3 separate regions of the Homo sapiens genome follow, and all the other regions are linked to region 3. The links are contacts of gene promoters, found by promoter capture Hi-C in blood cells and fetal thymus (Javierre and others, 2016). All regions are on one chromosome and are shown on one strand. The core of a region is centred on a gene start or on the middle of the fragment in contact, and the rest is flanking DNA. Distances in the headings are between cores, read along the strand shown. Region 1 overlaps CCR6 (C-C motif chemokine receptor 6). Region 2 overlaps CEP43 (centrosomal protein 43). Region 3 holds the start of SFT2D1 (SFT2 domain containing 1).

Region 1 (3,223 bases), core at 54-2,553, 790 kb after region 3:
TTCAGAACATGTGATAAAGCTCAGTCAATGAGATATGCCTTCCTGGTGAAGGAGATACTCAGGGGATGAGACATGATGAGTCTCTCATTTGGTGTCATGCCATAGTGTGCCCGCCCTACAGGGTACCCCGGGTCCTGTGAGAGGCTAACATTCAGGTGGGGGGTGACAATGAGTTACTGAGACAGCAACAATCGACACTTTACTTGAGGCAGCTGAATATTGGAAAAGAAGCCTCTTAACTGCAAAACCGAATTGAGTCAAATGACATTTCTAAAGTGTGTCATTAGATGACTTTTTCTTAGAGCCCCTGAAACTCCTCCTCCAAAGAACAGTGTGTCCTACAGAAGCTCTAGAAGTATTCCTCTGCCCACTTGTTTGGGAAATATCTAAATTCCAAAGACAAGAAAATTACACTTTAAGAATCAGTTGAGCTGAATGTATTTTACATGTGATTTAATGACATCAAAGTGAGATCTGGTGAGAATGGTGGTCATAGGGACCACGTGTGAGATAGGAAGTGCTGAACCTCAAAGAGACAGTGTGAGATGTGTTGCAGGTGGCTGCTTTGCAAGGGTAGGTTCACTGGTTCACCAAGAACTGGACACAGGGCTCAGCACATTTCCCTGCATCTCTCATCTGCCACTCGTAGATAACAGGGTGTCTTATTCTCAGTTCATTAAAGAAGGAACAGAAATATCTACTAAAAAACTTCTTAGTGTCTTCACATCAACATTTTCTTAATAGAAAATCTGCAGCCTGTTTCTCCAAGGAGCTGGTGACTGCTGCCTGAGATCTGAGATGATAGAGCAAGTTGTGAACAGGATTCTTTACACGTTGAGGTGATACCCACGCCAATCTGTCACCAAAACAGTTTCCTTAAAACAATTCACACAGTTTTTCCTGTGAAAACAGTGGCTTGGGGAAGGCCGAATCATTTTCAATGACTGTGGCTGGCATACAGGTGAACCTGACAACCACCGTTTTTATGGAGAATCCTGATTCTTAACCACAGTGACATTAAATTTGTCATTATCTAGAATTGTACATTGTTTATACCTAACACGTGCAAAACACCATCCTAAGAGACATGGAATTTATCAATTTTGGTTCATTGACTTATTCTGACATGAGAATAAATGAAAGGAAATTAAAGTAGTGTCTTATGAACAGGACGGAGTAGGCCAGCTTCTCATAGCTCTGCCGGGAACTTCCTGCCCTGTGGCCTGTGTATCTGGTTCCCTCTGGGCCTCCTTCTCTCAGGGACCCCACCCTCTGGGCCCCCCTCCCTCCGGGACTCCTCCCTCTGGGACCACCCTCCCTCTGGACCCCCTCCCTTTGGGACCCCTCCTTCTGGGACCCCCATCCCTCTGGACCCCTTCTCTCTGGGCCCCCTCCCAACTCCTTCTGCCGACAGGGATCCATCACACAGGCGCCCCAGTGCTGGCCTTCTGTTCACCAAGAGTTACTCACTTTCTGGGGTGCATCTCGTGATGACTGCTAGCATGGAACCGTTATATAATTACTTGTTTACCTGGCAGCCTTTTGAAGCTCAAGTACGCGTTGAGTCATCGCTGCACTTCAGTGCCTCTCCTCCGTAGACAGTTCATAAACATTTGTTGAACTGAGTTCAACTTAAATTCAGAAAATACTGTGTGTCACGGTGCAGTTAAACAAATGCTTACCTTAAATGGGGGCCCGTTGGGCATCGAGTGCACGGCGTGCCGGGCCGTCCCTCCCTTTTTGGCCCCCGCTGCTCTTCCCATCGTCATCAACTCAGCCTCCACGTGATGGGGAGGTCACTCCCTCCCATCCGGTCCCAGCCCCACTCACCTGGGAACCCGTGCCGCTGGCCCCACCTTGGCCTAGCATCCGTCCAACCCTGCAGCGACCGCTCCCCACAGCCCCTGCTCCCTTGTTCTCCAGAGCCGCGCCCCTGCTGCAGGCCTCCCCCTCGCTGTCCCCAAGCCCCTGCCTTCCACCCACACTGCCCACTCCTTCCCACCGTCCCCGCCTCTGTCCTTATGGAGTCCTCAAAAGCTCTTCTTGCCCCAGAACCTCCCATTACCCCTCAGTGCTCAGCGGCAGATCCTTGCTGTGACTGTTTATGGCACTAAGTGTCTGTTCCAACACATTTGCGCGGAAGAGTACGCAGGTACTTTTAAATTAACTTTATTGAGGCTAATTTATATGCAATAAATGTCACCGATTGAAGGGTACAATTCAACAGGTCTTGACAAGGGCACCCAGCCATGTGCCACCCCCACAATCAGGATAGAGGACATTTCTGCCACCACAAAAGCCCCTTGTGTCGCCCAACCCCAGCCAATCCCTTCTTCCCGTCCTGATGACAATCCCTGATTTCATTCCTGCCACTGTTATTTTGCCTTTTCTAGAAATGTTAGGGGTGGAATGGTGCAGTGCATGGTCTCTTCTGCCTGGATTTCTTACCGAGCGAAGGTTTTGAGTCACCCCCGTTGGAGCATGCATTAGTCGCCCGTTCCTTTTCATGGTTGAGTAGTATATGCTGTTGCATGGATACACTTCAACTCGGGTATCTGCTCACCAGTTCACAGACATTTGGGTCTTTTTCAGTTTGGGACGGTTAAGAATAAACCTGCTGGGAATGTTCCAGTGTTAATCCTCCCATGTCTCTTGGGTAGACATGTAGGAGTCGGTTGCAGGTTCCCATGGTGGATGCATGTTCAGCTGTGCAAGAAAGGACCCCACTGTCTCCTTGGAGTGGCTGTGTGATCTTGCAGTCCCACCAACAAAGTGTGAGAGCCCCAGATGCACCATGTCCTCTCCCAGCTTCCAGCCCCCTGTTTAATCTTAGTCCTTCCAGTGGGATCTCTGTGTGTGTGTCTGTGTGTGTGTGTGTATGTGTGTGTGTGTTTTGGACGGAGTCTCTCTCTGTCACCCAGGCTGGACTGCAGTGGCGTAATCTCAGCTCATTGCAACCTCCGCCTCCCGGGTTCAACTGATTCTCCTGCCTCAGCCCCCCAAGTAGCTGGGATTACAGGAGCACGCCATCACGCCTGGCTAATTTTTGTATTTTTAGTAAAGATGGGGTTTCACCATGTTGGCCAGGATGGTCTCGAACTCCTGGACTTAAGTGGTCCGTCTGCCTCGGCCTCCCAAATTGCTGGGATTACAGGCCTGAGCCACTGTTCCCAGCCTTCATTGTGGTTTTAATTTGCATTTTCCTCATGATTAATGGCATTGA
Region 2 (3,446 bases), core at 408-2,907, 700 kb after region 3:
GGAGTGCCATGGGGCGACCTCGGCTCACTGCAACCCCTGCCTTCTGGGTTCAAGTGATTCTCCTGCCTCAGCCTCCCAAGTAGCTGAGATTACAGGTGCCTGCCACCATGCCCAGCTAATTTTTATAATTTTTTTGTAGAGACGGGATTTCACCATGTTGGCCAGGCTGGTCTCAAACTCCTGACCTCAGGTGATCCACCCGCCTCAGCCTCCCAAAGTGCTGGGAATACAGGTGTGAGTCACGGTGCCCGGCCTAGTCTTCCTGCTCTAGGAAGGGACGTGTTTGGGGAGGAAATCCAGGGCAGCTACCTTTGTGAGTTGTCCTAATGCTGCGTTCAGAGTTCCACACGTTCAACAAGCATCTGACATTTAAGGAAAGTGAATGTATGTCATGAAAGACAGATGAACAAAGAACTGATCTTGAAGAAAATGTAATCAGGAAACGAGATAATTCAAGAACAAAAACCTGTGAAGGACTGAATGTGTCCCCCAAAATGTGTATGTCGAAACCTAATCCCACATAGGATGGAATTAGGTAGGGCCTCTGGAAGTTGATGAGATCATTAGCGCCCTTATAGGAGGCCCGGGAGAGCTGCTTTGCCCCTTCCAGCGTGTGAGGACACAGTGAGGAGGTGTTGCCTATGAGGAAACAGGCCCTCCCAGATGGTGAACCTGCCGGTACCTTGATCTTGGACTTAAGCCATCTGAGCTGTGAGCCCTACACTTCCATTCTTTATAAATTATCCAGTCCAAGGTACTTTAGGAACCTGAATGGATTAAGACAAACCTGATTATGCCACTCCGAGATTTGAGGTAACATTTGAATCTAAAAGAGGCTATATGAAAGAGGTTATAATAAAAATGATTTTTGACTAAAAAATTGTTGGCCTAAGATAATTCAGTAGCAGGGCTGAATAATGGGATGACTCAAAATCAGTAAGCTCAAAGGCAATTTCAAAGAAATCTTTATGTTTAGCAAGAAGACCAAGATGACAAGATGCGCCAGGAGACTTGGCCAGAGGACCTCCAGGCTGACAAAGTTTCCCCGAGGAAGTCAGATTGGAAAAGTGTCCTCAGGTTCAAGGAAACCTGGGTGTGCACCGGGTGAATGAGAGTGGCAGACAGAAGGAAACAGCAAGGCCTCTGAGGTAGGAGGGACAGCGTTTTTGAATGTGAAATTTATTCCCTGATACATGTTTTTAAAAATGAATCTTGCTGCCCTTAGAAAATGAACCCCCGAACAAGGTAAGGTCGAGCTGGCCCCTCGTGTCATCCGACTTTGCGTTGTGGCCCTGCCTGCAGAAACGTGTGCTCTGCTACAGCCCTGGGAGGAGGGGCCGGGCTCCCAACTCCTGCCCCGCTTCTAGCACATGCTGTGCTTGGCCACTTCTCTGCCTCTTAGTTTAACAGCAGCACTGGGCAAGGTTTGCCCTCTGCACACCAGACCGGCTTCCCAAGAACCGGGGAAGAGGAGAGGGCATGCCTGGGGCCTGAGCTTAGTGGGCCGGGTGGAGGCAGGAGGTACTGCATGGAGGAGCGTGGACAGTGGCATGCAGGAGGCCAGTCATTCTGCGGTTTTAGCTGGAGGTTTGTTTTTGGTAGTTTGTAGAATCATCAGATTTGATGATGAAACTTTTTTTCCATAAATGTTAAATTTTCAGACACTTGTATTTTTTTTTTCCTTTTTTTTTTTTGAGACTGAGTCACTGTCGCCCAGGCTGGAGTGCAGTGGTACTAGCTCGGCTCACTGCAACCTCTGCCTCCCAGGTTCAAGCGATTCTCCTGCCTCAGCCTCCTGAGTAGCTGGGATTACAGATGTGTTTCACCATGCCCGGCGAATTTTTTTTGTATTTTTAGTAGACACGGGATCTCACCGTGTTGGCCAGGCTGGTCTTGAACTCCTGACCTATGGTGATCCGCACCCCTCCCCGCCCCCCCCGCGGCCCAGCCTCCCAAAGTGCTGGGATTACAGGCATGAGCCACTGTACCCAGCCCTGTATTTTCTTTAAAAACCAATTTTGGGCCGGGCACGGTGGCTCACGCCTGTAATCCCAGCACTTTGGGAGGCCGAGGCAGGCGGATCACGAGGTCAGGAGATCGAGACCATCCTGGCTAACATGGTGAAAACCCATCTCTACTAAAAATACAGAAAAAAAATGAGCTGGGTGCGATGGTGGGTGCCTGCAGTCCCAGCTACTCGGGAGGCTGAGGCAGGAGAATGGCGTGAACCCAGGAGGCGGAGCTTGCAGTGAGCCCAGATCACGCCCCTGCACTCCAGCCTGGGTGACAGAGCGAGACTCCGTCTCAAAAACAACAACAACAACGAAAAAACGATTTTGGCATGTTTTGTAAGTTGCCAGACTATTGGATATACCTCTTAATCATACTTTGTTTGAAATCCTTTGTGGTTTCTAAAGCACTAGTAGCTTTCTGAAAGGAAAATTTTTAATGAATGAAGCATGCTTCATCCTGCACATCCCCTCCTGCCCCAGCACCCCTACTGCCCATGCGCCTCTCCTGCCCCAGCACCCCTACTGCCCCAGTGCCAGGCCTTTTCTAGCAGCTCTCATGGGTTCATCCCTGCTGCGGGCATTGCTCCACCAAGGGGCAGTGCTCTCCCTGCCGGTAAGTGTTGGAACTTCACGTTTCCCTCTAGTTTTCTCTTTACATTTTAACATACACTATTATGTGTCAATATATTAATTATATATTAATTACATTTATAGAGGTTAGGTATATATGGCAGATCATATCTGAGCGTGAATTACATTCTCCAATATTTTTATTTGTCATGATTTATTGCAGGGTTCACTTATTTGATCTACCCCAACTTAACACACATTTCCAAGAAAATATCCATCACACTAGAAAGAAAGAAAGAGGAAGGAAGGAAGGGAGGGAGGGAGAGAAGGAGAAAGGAAGAAAGGGAAGGAAAATGGAATGGAGGAAGGGAAAAATGGAAGGAGGAAGGAAGGAAGGGAAAGAATGAAGAAAGCCATTTGTTCCTGCAAACCTAAACCTCTTTGTAGTAAGTTCTGGCAGAAGGTGTGTTTCTGGAGTTAAACTACAGGCTTGGAAATGGAATTTCTTAGCCTAATTTCTAAATTAGAACTGCTTATGCAAATTAACACTCCGTACATTTCAACAAGCAGTTGGCTGATTTCTTCTGTCCACTCCACCTGCAGATGCAGAGGTGGCCCCATCCTGTGATGTGCCACCACATCCCTTTTCAGTGAAGGGCTTTGTTGGCTGCTGTGGGCATTCTCATGGCCTCTCCAGGGATGGCCTCCACTGTAGAGACCTATGTCACCAAGGCCAGGCCCTCTCAGGGGGCTCCATCCAACGACCATTCTGCCTCAGGGTAAGAGGCCCGGCCCTCTCAGCCTGAGTCCATTCTGGCTCCAGAGCTCCCTGAGAGCTTGCCTGGCAAGTTACTCTTGCAATTC
Region 3 (3,555 bases), core at 575-3,074:
TTTATTCACTGTTTCCTCCAATTAAAATTTAAGTTCCATGTGAAAGAGGTATTTGCACTGGTCACTGTTATTAACACCTGCATCTTGAACAATGTCAAACATATGCAGGAACTTGAATATTTGTTAATGAACGATCACCTCCTCTGAACTCACAGCACTTGTCTATACAGCCAGTCACTCTAATCTTTGATTGATTACTTCTCCACATATCTTTCTCCCCTCTAGACAGTGGGCTCAAGATAAGTGATATTACCTTTGCATCTCCAAAGTTTAGAGTAGCACTGTCCAATAGAACTTTCTGCAATGCAAATGTTCTGTATCTGCGCTGTTTAATACAGTAGCCTTTAACCACATGTGCCTACTGAACATGTGAAATGTGGTTGCTGTGACTAAGGAACTGAATGTTAAATTTTATTTAATTTTAATTAATTTAAATTTAATTGCTCCAGGCGCAGTGGCTCAAGCCTGTCATCCAAGCACTTTGGGAGGTCAAGGTGGGCGGATCACTTGAGGTCAGGAGTTCGAGACCAGCCTGACCAACATGGTGAAACCCCCATCTCTACTAAAAACACAAAATAATTAGCAGGGCATGGTGGCAGGTGCCTGTAATCCCAGCTACTCAGGAGGCTGAGGCAGGAGAATTGCTTGAACCCGGGAGGCAGAGGTTGCAGCGAGTCGAGATCACGCCACTGCACTCCAGGCCTGAGCGACAAAGCAAGACTCCATCTAAAAAAAAAAAAAAAAAAAATTCATTGGCCACATGTGGCTGTGGTAATATACAGAGTTACAGAGTGCAATGAGAACAGATACTTGTCTTACACTCTCTGAACCCAAAACTGTAGCCCAGAACTCTACCCACACCAAGTGCTGAGTAAGTATAATGACAAGGAAGTCAGGAGAGACAAATAGAAGATCCTTATGAAATACAATTCAATTTTAAACGTCCAACTTCTGCGACAGCACACAATAACGTGCAATATAATCGCATGCAATAACAAAAAAACTTACACCGCAGTTCCTGCTCCACTGCTACTTTTAACCTTCTTGCTGGAGGAAGTAACCCTTATCAAGTCTCGCTGGTAAGGCGCAGACACAAGGGCTTTTATTAAGAAAAAAAAAAAAATCTCTTACCAGGGCTCACTGCCTTAACAGAAAAATTTTAATTCAATATTATTTCACTTACCAATGTCCTGTTTATTTTTCCTCCAGTCTCCCTATTTCCAAAAGACCACCCCCCAGCAAACACACACATAACACCACCTTTACCTCCAAAGACAAACAGATGCAACAAGCTTTAGGGTCTCGGCTCACTGCAGCTTGCAGGATAAATGCCCTGCATAGCTACTTACGCTGCACAGCCCGAGGCCAGACCCCGCACCAGGCTCAGAAAACCAAATAGTACGTGGGAGCGATGGATTATTTGGGAAAGCGAGGGCAGACGTTAGCGGATTCCTAAGTCAGAAGGCCAGATGGGAGAGTCGGGGGGGGGCCTCAAAGTGGGTTTAAGTAGACCGCATGGAAAACTGGAAAGTTCTCAAATTCTACCCAGGAAGCAGGCGGAGCCCTCCTAAATCAACCAGCCGGGCAGAGGAGTCCCAGACCCCCGGCCTCGCACCCACCCCACCCGCTCGGCCGGTCCTCAGTGCGGCCGGGGCCAGCGGGCAGCCCCGGGACTGGACGAGGGCGCAAGTTCGCTACCTGCGCAGTCAGGCCCTGCTCCTCGTCGTCCTGGCCGCTCAGGACTCGCCGCAGCTTCTCCATGGCCCTGTTACAGGGCCGTAGCGGCCGCCACTCTGTTGCCTGCCCCTGACGCCCACCAGGAAACCCCGAACCCGAAACCCCACAGACCAGCCGGAAGTCCGGTCCCGCCCGCTTCCTGTGCGTCAGCGCGGCCGCCGTAGCAATGCGCGCATGCTCACCAGCCTTTCTCTCGGACCCGGTAGTGGTCCGTGAAGTCCGCGGAGTGGGCGCTGATGGTGGGGCTATCCCTTCCCACTGTCCGCGAGGTGCGCCGTGGTAACGCGCGGGGACACAGCGCGGGTGTGGACCCCCTGCCCACAGCTGGCGCACAGCCATTGAGTGTAGACCCGACTGGGGCACGACCACTGAACCCTGCACTTGGCGTCCTCCGGGCCCCGCGAGGGGCCTTGCTGGGCGGGTCCGCGGCACCCCGGGTTCCCAGAAGTCGAGGCCCCGAATGCGCCTCCCCTCGCCTGGAATCGGAGAGCGGAGGGCTCCTGCGGGCAGGTGGCCGTGCTCCGAAGAGCGCCCTGCCACCCATGAGGTGGCCCTGGGGGCGTCGCTAGCCTTCCCAGCTGGGTGTCCTCATCCGGAGACACAAACACCTGCCTCAGGATTAAAGCGAGGAGCTGTATTTCAGACCGTCTCAGGAGAAATAGCAAGAGGCTGCCTCACTCCTTTGCCCTTGTGAGAGCTATTTCTTTACTCAGTTCACTGGTCAGCTAGGAGTTTGAAAGAGTGAAATCTTATTTATAAAAGGAATAGCTAATGCAACCCATTTTTCCAGTTTTGTGTGAACAGTGAAACCATTGAACAAGCGTTTACTGTTCTCCGGCTCGTGCTGGATGAACAAACACTAAGAAATGGGGAAGTGGCATTTTTCTCTCTCTCATTTTCCACCATGCTAAGAAAGGAGATTAAAAATCAGGGCTGCCTGTCTAATATGGTCTCCAGAAGTCATTAAGTGATAGGTTTTGCTCTTCTGTTTGCTTCTAGGCTTGGTAAGATGGTAATGAGAATGCCTGTTCTTTTGATTACTTTGCCCACTCCATTTCCTCCCTAAAATCTTTCAGTTAAAAGGTGGATCCTCAAAAAGTTTCATTGTCCATCCTACTGCCTCAGTAGAGATTTTATCTAAACTCAATTAGATAAAAACAAATACCACAGGAACCCTAGGAAAGCAAGTCGCGCCTTCTTGTGATGAAACGGTCCAATGCTCAGCATCCTTTTCCTTTAGGCAGAAGATATTTCTATGTGGCCTGTTCATACTAATATGAGAAGTCTTATCCTTATGTCCTTAACTTTAAAAGGTCAGAAAATAGATTGTAAAATCTATAGAATAAAACTATGTTTCTGTTGAATAAGAGAGTATGTCCGTAAGTGTTACGGGAAAGGGGTCCGGATCCATACCCCAAAAGAGGGTTCTTGGATCTTGCGCAAAAAGAATTCAGGGCAAGTGAAAACAAGTTTATTTAAAAAGTAGAGGAACATCGGTAGTCTGAGGCAGAGAATTGCTTGAACCCGGGAGGCGGAGCTTGCAGTGAGCCGAGATCGCGCCCCTGCACTCCAGCCTGGGCGACAGAGCGAGACTCCGTCTCAAAAAAAAAAAAAAAAAGTAGAAGGACAAAAGAATAGCTACTCCATAGGCAGAGCAGGGCTGTCTATTACCAGGGCTGCTGGTTGCCCATTTTTATGGTTATTTCTTGATGATATGCTAAACAAGGGGTGGATTCATGCCTCCCCTTTTTAGACCATATAGGCTAACTTCGTGATATTGCCATGGCATTTGTAAACTGCCATGGCGCTAGTGGGAGT

Evidence for each region. The method cuts DNA at HindIII sites, captures the fragments that hold promoters and counts their contacts. A CHiCAGO score of 5 or more calls a contact.
Region 1: a fragment that was not itself captured here is called in contact with the fragment with the promoter of SFT2D1 in region 3 in 1 of 17 cell types (naive B cells); the score reaches 6.5 in naive B cells.
Region 2: a contact is called between a fragment that was not itself captured here and the fragment with the promoter of SFT2D1 in region 3, in 2 of 17 cell types (monocytes and total B cells). The highest score is 7.1, in monocytes.

The regions. Positions count from the first base shown.
Region 1 is chr6:167,129,665-167,132,887 of GRCh38, forward strand. All of the region lies in intron 1 of CCR6 (C-C motif chemokine receptor 6), which reads left to right. Among named protein-coding and RNA genes, the nearest start is that of CCR6, 8.2 kb to the left of the region's middle. The HindIII fragment of the contact is 4,140 bases long and covers 1-3,223 here.
Region 2 is chr6:167,043,429-167,046,874 of GRCh38, forward strand. It overlaps CEP43 (centrosomal protein 43), which reads left to right. Exons shown (of 13, transcript NM_007045.4): 13 at 1-3,446. Among named protein-coding and RNA genes, the nearest start is that of CEP43, 46 kb to the left of the region's middle. The HindIII fragment of the contact is 5,824 bases long and covers 1-3,446 here.
Region 3 is chr6:166,340,721-166,344,275 of GRCh38, forward strand. SFT2D1 (SFT2 domain containing 1) reads right to left here and starts at 1,825. Exons shown (of 8, transcript NM_145169.3): 1 at 1,699-1,825. The coding sequence starts at 1,761. It overlaps LOC100289495 (a long non-coding RNA gene), which reads left to right and starts at 1,911. Exons shown (of 2, transcript NR_040022.1): 1 at 1,911-2,427. RefSeq lists a silencer at 1,536-1,695 and an enhancer at 1,757-2,650. The HindIII fragment of the contact is 4,850 bases long and covers 1,291-3,555 here.